Regions from separate parts of the Homo sapiens genome. Here region 2 is linked to region 1. Evidence: promoter capture Hi-C in 16 types of primary human blood cells and fetal thymus (Javierre and others, 2016). All regions are on one chromosome and are shown on one strand. The core of a region is centred on a gene start or on the middle of the fragment in contact, and the rest is flanking DNA. Distances in the headings are between cores, read along the strand shown.

Region 1 (3,913 bases), core at 967-3,466:
CTCCCAAAGTGCTGGATTACAGGCAAAAGCCACCGTGCCTGGCACTCAAGGACTCATTTTCCTCAGATCATTCCATGGCTGGCTCATGCACTTTATTCATATCTCTACCTCAAAGCTGCATTTTCGGGAAGGCCTTCCCTGATACTTCTCCTTCAGTACAAACTACTTTTGACCTTAAGCTGTTATTTCAGGACTCTCATCTGACTAAATGAAACTATTTTATTTGCATACTAATTTATTGTCAGTCTCTTATATCGGGAATATAAGATCTCTGACTATAAAGCTCTTGTACCTTTTGTTGATAGATGCATCCTGACCTCCTATCACAGGGTGTGGCTAAAATAGGGACTTAAAATAGGTATTCAAAACCTGAATACCTATTTCTGAATACCTGAAACATGTCCATTTAGAAGGGTACTTTCCTGTGTCCCTACATCATGTTGGAGGTTGTAAACACAAATGCTACAGGGCTCAGATGGGTACTAAAGACAAAGAAAAACTAGATATTACTTGAACTGAGGTAAAGGAGGCAGATGCTTTCCAGCTTGAACCATTGTTGCCAGGCTACAATGCACATCTAACGTAGTCAGATCTTCCCGTTAATTCATGGGATGCCACATTGTTTTTATTCTTTCAATTTTAGCTGTTAGCAACCAATTTGAAAAAAAAAAAAGTAGCATGTGAATCACCAGTTGCAAGCTCTGTTCATACAAATAAGACAATTCGACATTAATTAAAAGGAGAAACTGGGAAAAGATATTGAGCAGACTGTACAGTAGTGTTTGTAATGGTGAAAAATGGGAAACAACCTAAACATCCATCACTATGGGAATTCCCAAATAATTTGTGACAAATCTATTTGATAAAGTCTAGCTATATTTATCAATGTGGATAGCTCTCAAAAACACAGAATTTGGTGAAAAAATCAAGTTGCAGATCAATACACAAAATATAATAGCATTCATGTAAAACTTCAAATGCCCCAAACCATTCTACATATTGTTTATAATACATAGTAATAGTTTAAATATAGAAACCTAGATTGGCAAGATACATATCAAATTCATGATCCTGGTTGCCTCTCTGAGGGTGGTAGTAGAATGGGACTGAGAATAGGGAACACCTTCTTTATCTGTAATGCTCCATTTCTTTCATTCATAAATCTGTTCGTTCTGGATAGTGGGTGCGTTGTTTATTCTGTGCTTTTTTTTTTTAACATTTCAATAGTTTTGTTTTTTTTTTTTAAATGGCGGGTGGCGGAAGAACATCCTATCCTAGAAGCCAAGAGACTGGGGTTGTCTTTGCTCTGCCTTTTCTGGCATGGATACAATCTCTAGATATGGTTTCCCCATTAGCTAATGCGGGGGGTGCTATGTGGTGTTCCTCCAGAGTCCCTTCAATCTAAGGACCTGTGAATCTAAAACCTTCCCACCTCCCACTCCAACACCGGGAAGGCTACCCAGACCAGGCAATGAAACGTGCATTTCTTCCCTCATTTAAGATAGATCTCTTTCTCTCAGCCTGCAATTCCTTCTCCAGAGGCTTTAAGTATAGTGGAAGTAGAACTATCTTTGACGACAGAGAGACACCTGCATCAATTAGCCTTTCTGAGCCTCAAATTCCCCATTTGTAAAACAGAGAGTATAACACCTACCCATAAAATTGTAGAGAGGTTTAGATACACCGTTATGTGTAGGGCCCGAACAGAGTAGCTATTAATAGTGGTAACAGACTCTCAATTAGGGGCTCAACATCATGGTCGCTGAACAGAATCACGGTCGCTGAACAGAATCACACTCTTCACGCCGCCTTGGAGCCAAAATTAGTTTAGCCGCGAGAAGTCCGGGCAACCAATCGGAAACAACCAAGGAACAGTTGCATGGCGACACTCTGGTTCCGCCTTCGGGCATGCTCGAACAGCATTCTGGGAATTGTAGTTCGGGGGGGGAATCTAACACTCACCGAGGGGCGGAGTAGCTTCCGGAAAGGGTACTGCATTTCCCGTTTCTACCTCCACTGCACCCGCTTATTGCGTCTTGCTCCTGGGTCACAGAGCCTAAAACGACACACCCAACACGCCCGCCGGAGTTACAGCTAAAGGAAGGACAGGGGAAGCAATGAAATGCCGAGGGCGGAGCCAAGAGCGACACTGGGGGAGCAGGAAAAGGCGGGGCTTCCGCTTGGGGCATGGAGGCTGTACCTCTTACGTCACTTCCGTAAACAAACGGAGCTGCGGAGGAGCGGGTCCCGGGATGTGACCGGGGCTCTGCTTGTGGCTGCGGCGGTGGCTTCTGAGGCTGTCGGGTCTTTGCGGGTTGCGGAAGGGGGCCCCAATACCCTTCTTCTTCAGGTATGTAGTGGAAGCAAAGGAACCTCCGCAACCTGCCCCTTTAGGCCCTTCCCACCACTCTGGTCACTGCTGGGTACTGGGCGGTGAAGGGTCATCGCTTCGGTAGATTGGGGAAGGGGAATGAGGTGATGTCAAGAGGGATGCCCAGTGGTACTGCTTGGAGGCAAGACCTGGCACTTAAAACCACTGTGTGAATAAGTAACTATGAGCAGTTTACTTATTATGCCTTCTCTAAAACATTCTTTGCTGTTTGATATACAGGAAGGGTTTCAGTGCTCTTGTGACAGATGTAATTTTCCAAAAACGAGGAAATCGCGAGTGCTGGCTCCGCAGAATATTGTGGTTTAGACCACCACTGGTTTATTTGCATTGCTTTACTTCCTAGATTTTTTTTTCTTGTACCACCAAGTGTGTATTAGCATCGTTAAATTTCAGGCCAGCGTGTTTATGCGTATCATACATTTTTACAGATCCTTGCCTCTTCAGAGAACTAATCGTCTCTATTCAGTCATCTTTCAAACTCTCATTTAATTTGTGTTGCATGTTGAAACAACACCAGAATTATTGTTCTGTTACAAAAAATGCTTCTTAAAAGAAAAATTGTTAGCCAAGGTTTAAGTGGATTGACACCCAGTGGTATCTGGGATTAGAGACTGGGCATTGGAGCCTTTCCCAGAAAGCCTCTTCTTTGGCAGTATTGTAGCTCCAGTTGTAATTGTCTAGCGTCAGCCAATTTAAGCTCAGTGGTTTAAATTCCAGTGCCAGTGGCACTAAGTCCAGGCAAAAGGAAAAAGAAAAATTTATTGAATTCATCAAATAATTATTTTAAGCGACAGCAATGGGTTTGAATCTTTTTGAATGGTCATGGCATGCCTAAATTAAACACAGCATGCCAAAAACGGCCTAATGTTTCTAGAAGGCAATTTACAACCTGATGAGGTAGAGATAGCCATATAAATTCATCTTATGATATATGAAATAATGAAGTTAAGAAAAATTTAACACTATGCACAAATAAAGTATGGAAGGGGTTTTTTTGTTTTGTTTTGTTTTGTTTTGTTTTGTTTTTGAGACGGAGTCTCGCTCTGTCGCAGTGGCACCATCTCGGCTCAGGGCAAGCTCCGCCTCCCGGGTTCATGCCATTGTCCTGCCTCAGCCTCCTGAGTAGCTGGGACTACAGGCGCCCGCCACCACTCCCGGCTAATTTTTTGTATTTTTAGTAGAGACGGGGTTTCACCGTGTTAGCCAGGATGGTCTCGATCTCCTGACCTCGTGATCCGCCCGCCTTGGCCTTCCAAAGTGCTGGGATTACAGGCGTGAGCCCGGCCGGAAGGGTATTTTTTAAATAGATGGATGTTAGAAAATAGAGCGGATTAATAGATAAAGTAAGGGGATTGTGTAGGGATAACTAGGAGGCCTTACACGTATTCCGCATGGAAGGGCCATCTGTAACTTCACATTGTTAACTTTTTTGATATGGGCAAAACTAAATATATATCATAAAATTCACGTTTGTTTGGAAATGGTTAGAGAAAGTATATTCAAAATAGGCAACGAACAAGT
Region 2 (3,777 bases), core at 1,082-3,581, 520 kb after region 1:
CTTTGTGGCCATATTTGTCATTTTGCTTACACTAGTCAGTTTGTGTTACCATTTTCCTGTATAATTCTATGTAGATTAACAATCACTGGGGGTACATGACTGTATATATTTAAAATGTTTAAATATAAAGTGGTATTAGTTTTCTTTCAAAGTTAAAATATTTAATAGAAGAGCCATTGAATTTATTTAAATAACTCATAAGAATAACATCTCTAAGCTCTATTTGATCCATAAATCAATATTTTGCTTAGTGTGAATATTTTGATGTAAATGCATTATTACACTGGATAGAGGAGACATTTCTCACTTTTCTGGCATTTTCTTTTTCAGATAAGCAACACGAATGCTTTTTTTGAGGCTTAAACTGGCATCATTTTTAGATTAAGACAGGGAATGAGGGAAGGTATAAATAAATAGACAAAGTAGTATGGAAACACGGGCCAGGTGCTGTGGCTCATGTCTGTAATCCCAGCACTTTAGGAAGCCGAGGCGGGTGGATCCTTGAGGCCAGGAGACCAGCCTGGCCAACATGGTGAAACCCTGTCTCTACTAAAAATACAAAAATTAGCCAGGTGTGGTGGCGGGCACCGGTAGTCCCAGCTACTTGGGAGGCTGAGGTATGAGAATTGCTTGAACTTGGGAGGCGGAGGCTGTAGTGAGCCAAGATCGTGCCACTGCACTCCAGCCTGGGTGACAGAGCAAGACTTCGTCTCAAAAACTAAACAAAACAAAAGCATGATGATACTTATAACAACAATTCCTTAAATTTCTATAATACTCTTTTATTCCAATATATAAACCAATTTTTTAAAAGAGAAAAACAGATTACAACTTTCTCTTCTAAGTCAGGAAGCTCTAGAAAAACTTAATGATTTTTAAGAAGTAGCAATGTTTCATAAACAAGGAGGAGACCAACTCGAGAAATAATTCAGCAATAATAAGGGCCCTTAGGAAAGGGTGAGAGATGGTACTGAGTCAGAGATTCCAGGGTTTCTGACTATTACCACTTCTAGAGTTGCAATAGATTTGGTTTAGGCCTTTAAGTTATGGTGCATTTTATTTGTAAATAATATTTAACAGTGATGCTGCTAAATAGCAGCATAAAAATGTGGCAAGATCCTCATAATTCACAGGTTTTGCTGTTGTGGTAACATGAAAGTGAAAACAAAAGCATACTGTTCTACAACTGCACAGCTTCCTTTTCCTGTTCTCAGGGCAGTAGATGTCAATTGAATGCTCAGACACCAACAAGAACAGAAAATTCAACACACAGATGTTGCCACTGACTTGTGATGCTCACCAAACACTCATAACTTAGAGGAAGTACTTTTTTTCTTTCACTGGTTTGAATTCACCAACTTGATTATCAAATAATGCAGCAGTTTCATTATTTTCATCACTGGGATTTCTTTTCCTGACCTCACTTGTTGATTGCACTCATCTATATATAACTTAGGCCTCCCCTGAACACGGAGAAAGACACACGGCACCTGCTGTCCAGCCAGAAGTTATTTTAAGCTATTCTAAAATGAGTCATGCCGTTTAGCACTTCATCCTTGAAAATCAAGAGAATCGTTTTTCAGTCAAATTGAAAACAGTAAACATTTAGTGGCTTAAATCCATACATGGGTTTTAAAGTCGGGGAGACTATCTTAGGATGAAATAAAATCTCAAGTAAAATGAACTTCAAAATAATTAATTTAAGATAAGCTGTCCATAGGAGTTTTACTTCGGTTAGTCTAAATGCAAGTGGCTGTTTGTATTTGATTTATTCTTCATGAGATGCCACAATCATTGATTTTTTAAATTCTTAATTCCATGGCTATTCTTTAAACTCCTGTTCCACATTTACTTTAAAACAGAACAGTCATTATAAAGCCCAGGACAATTCAATTCCCAAAAGTAGCCTCAAGACAAGTTAACAAGAGGGAAAAAAACAAAGTCAGAGAACTTTGTTACTTTTCAATCATCCATTTTATATTATGTGGCAAAGAAATTATTTCTAACTTTTATCTTATATAAACTTTATTGCCTTATTTTCCCCTCCCCAGGGAGAGAACTTTTCACTTGTGTTGGCTATTCCAGATGACTATCACAGACACATCCCTCCCTAAGCAACACATTTTATTTATAAATACAACAATGAAAAGTTCTCCAACAGTTCACTGGCAATCTCAAAGTTGCAAGTTTCGAACACCACAAACCGCACCCTATACCTTCTCACAGGGCTTGGGGGAGTGTTTGTCATACTTACCAGAAGGCAAGAAGCTAAGCAAGAAGAGAGAGGAGAGGAAGGAGGCAGGAAAAAGCAAGTCAGAGCTGCAGCAACAGCAGGAGAGGGCGGGCTGGCTGTGTTCTTACAAGGGAGAGAGAAACCCAATACACACACACACACATACACACGTGCACGCACGCGCGCGCACACACACACACACACACACACGCCACAGGCACTGATGGAGGCAGCAGTCTGGAGGAGGTGGGGGTAGGGAAAGGAACATCATATGACACAGCAAGGGGAAAATACACCCAAGCTTCCCTAGCTGTTGCCAGGGGAAATACCTTAGCAGAGAGAAGCAGCTGGAAGATCTCATTAGACTCTCCATGTTTTGTTTGTCCTTTCGGAAATTTAAACTCTGAGTATATTACCCCCGTTGCAAATGCAGTCTTTCACCATTGTTGTCCTTTTTGGGTAGAGATCAGTTTTTCTTACTTCTTGGGTTATCTCCAGTGTGGTGGAAGATTCATCTTCTTTTTCTTCTTCTTCTTGCACTAGCTTAATTAGTGTCAGGTTTCTTACAGGAATCATGGAAAAAGAAAAACAATGGCATAAGAACAGGGAGGTGGTGGAACCATTTTAATTCTGATGTCATTGTTTGGTTTGTTTGCAAAGTTTGAAATAAACATGTAGATGGTGATTTTGGAGCTGAACTGAGTATAATCTTCATGCACGTGGTAATTGGTGTGACCTTGGAGCACAGTCTTTCCCAGGTAACTCTTCCCATCTCAAACAAACCCTCAGGGAAGCAGTCTGCTTTTTCTTCCTTAGTTGGTGGCTTTCCCACATTTTGTAAATCCTCAACATGCTCCTTGATCCTCCTCAGAAAAAGAAATTCCTTCTGATTCACCATAAAATGCCTGTCTATTAATTTACATCCATTTGCCTTTTATTTTTCTTTCTGGAGCTTGTGTTCCCATACTTCCAAAGCAGATTCCTCCATCGGTTTCTGCTCTGGGGACAGGCTAGGCATAGTGGCATCCCTTGTGGGAGGCAGAATAATGCCACCCAAAAGATCTCCACGTCCTACTCCCTGGAACCTGTGAATATGTTTCTTTACATGACAAAAGAGACTTTGCAGATGTGAGGAAGGATCCTGAGGTAGGGAGGTTATCTTGAACTACTGGGTGGGTTCAATGTAATCATAAGGGTATTTATTTATTTATTTATTGAGACAGAGTCTCGCTCTGTCACTCAGGCTGGAGTGCAGTGGTGCAATCTCAGCTCACTGCAACCTCCCGGGTTCAAGCGATTCTCCTCCCTCAGCCTCCCAAGTAGCTGGGATTACAGGCGCCTGCCACCACATCCAGCTAATTTTTGTATTTTTAGTAGAGACGGGGTTTCGCTGTGTTGGCTAGGCTGGTCTCGAACTCCTGACCTCATGATCCGCCCACCTCGGCCTCCCAAAGTGCTGGGATTATAAGCGTGAGCCATTGCACTCAGCCTCATAAGGGTCTTTATAAATGAGGGAGGAAGGCAGTAGGATTGGAGGCAGAAAA

The links. The method cuts DNA at HindIII sites, captures the fragments that hold promoters and counts their contacts. A CHiCAGO score of 5 or more calls a contact.
Region 2: the fragment with the promoter of TXLNB here is called in contact with the fragment with the promoter of CCDC28A in region 1 in 3 of 17 cell types (fetal thymus, naive CD8 T cells and total CD8 T cells); the score reaches 7.4 in fetal thymus.

The regions. Positions count from the first base shown.
Region 1 is chr6:138,771,553-138,775,465 of GRCh38, forward strand. CCDC28A (coiled-coil domain containing 28A) reads left to right here and starts at 2,217. Exons shown (of 6, transcript NM_015439.3): 1 at 2,217-2,350. CCDC28A-AS1 (CCDC28A antisense RNA 1) reads right to left here and starts at 2,151. Exons shown (of 3, transcript NR_161205.1): 1 at 1,963-2,151. RefSeq lists enhancers at 1,268-1,942, 1,943-2,616, 1,980-2,029, 2,050-2,109, 2,470-2,529. The HindIII fragment of the contact is 8,118 bases long and covers 1-3,913 here.
Region 2 is chr6:139,289,667-139,293,443 of GRCh38, forward strand. It overlaps TXLNB (taxilin beta), which reads right to left and starts at 2,332. Exons shown (of 10, transcript NM_153235.4): 1 at 2,255-2,332. All of the region lies in intron 4 of LOC102723690 (a long non-coding RNA gene), which reads left to right. RefSeq lists enhancers at 1,047-1,106, 1,307-1,556 and a silencer at 1,166-1,460. The HindIII fragment of the contact is 5,007 bases long and covers 1-2,532 here.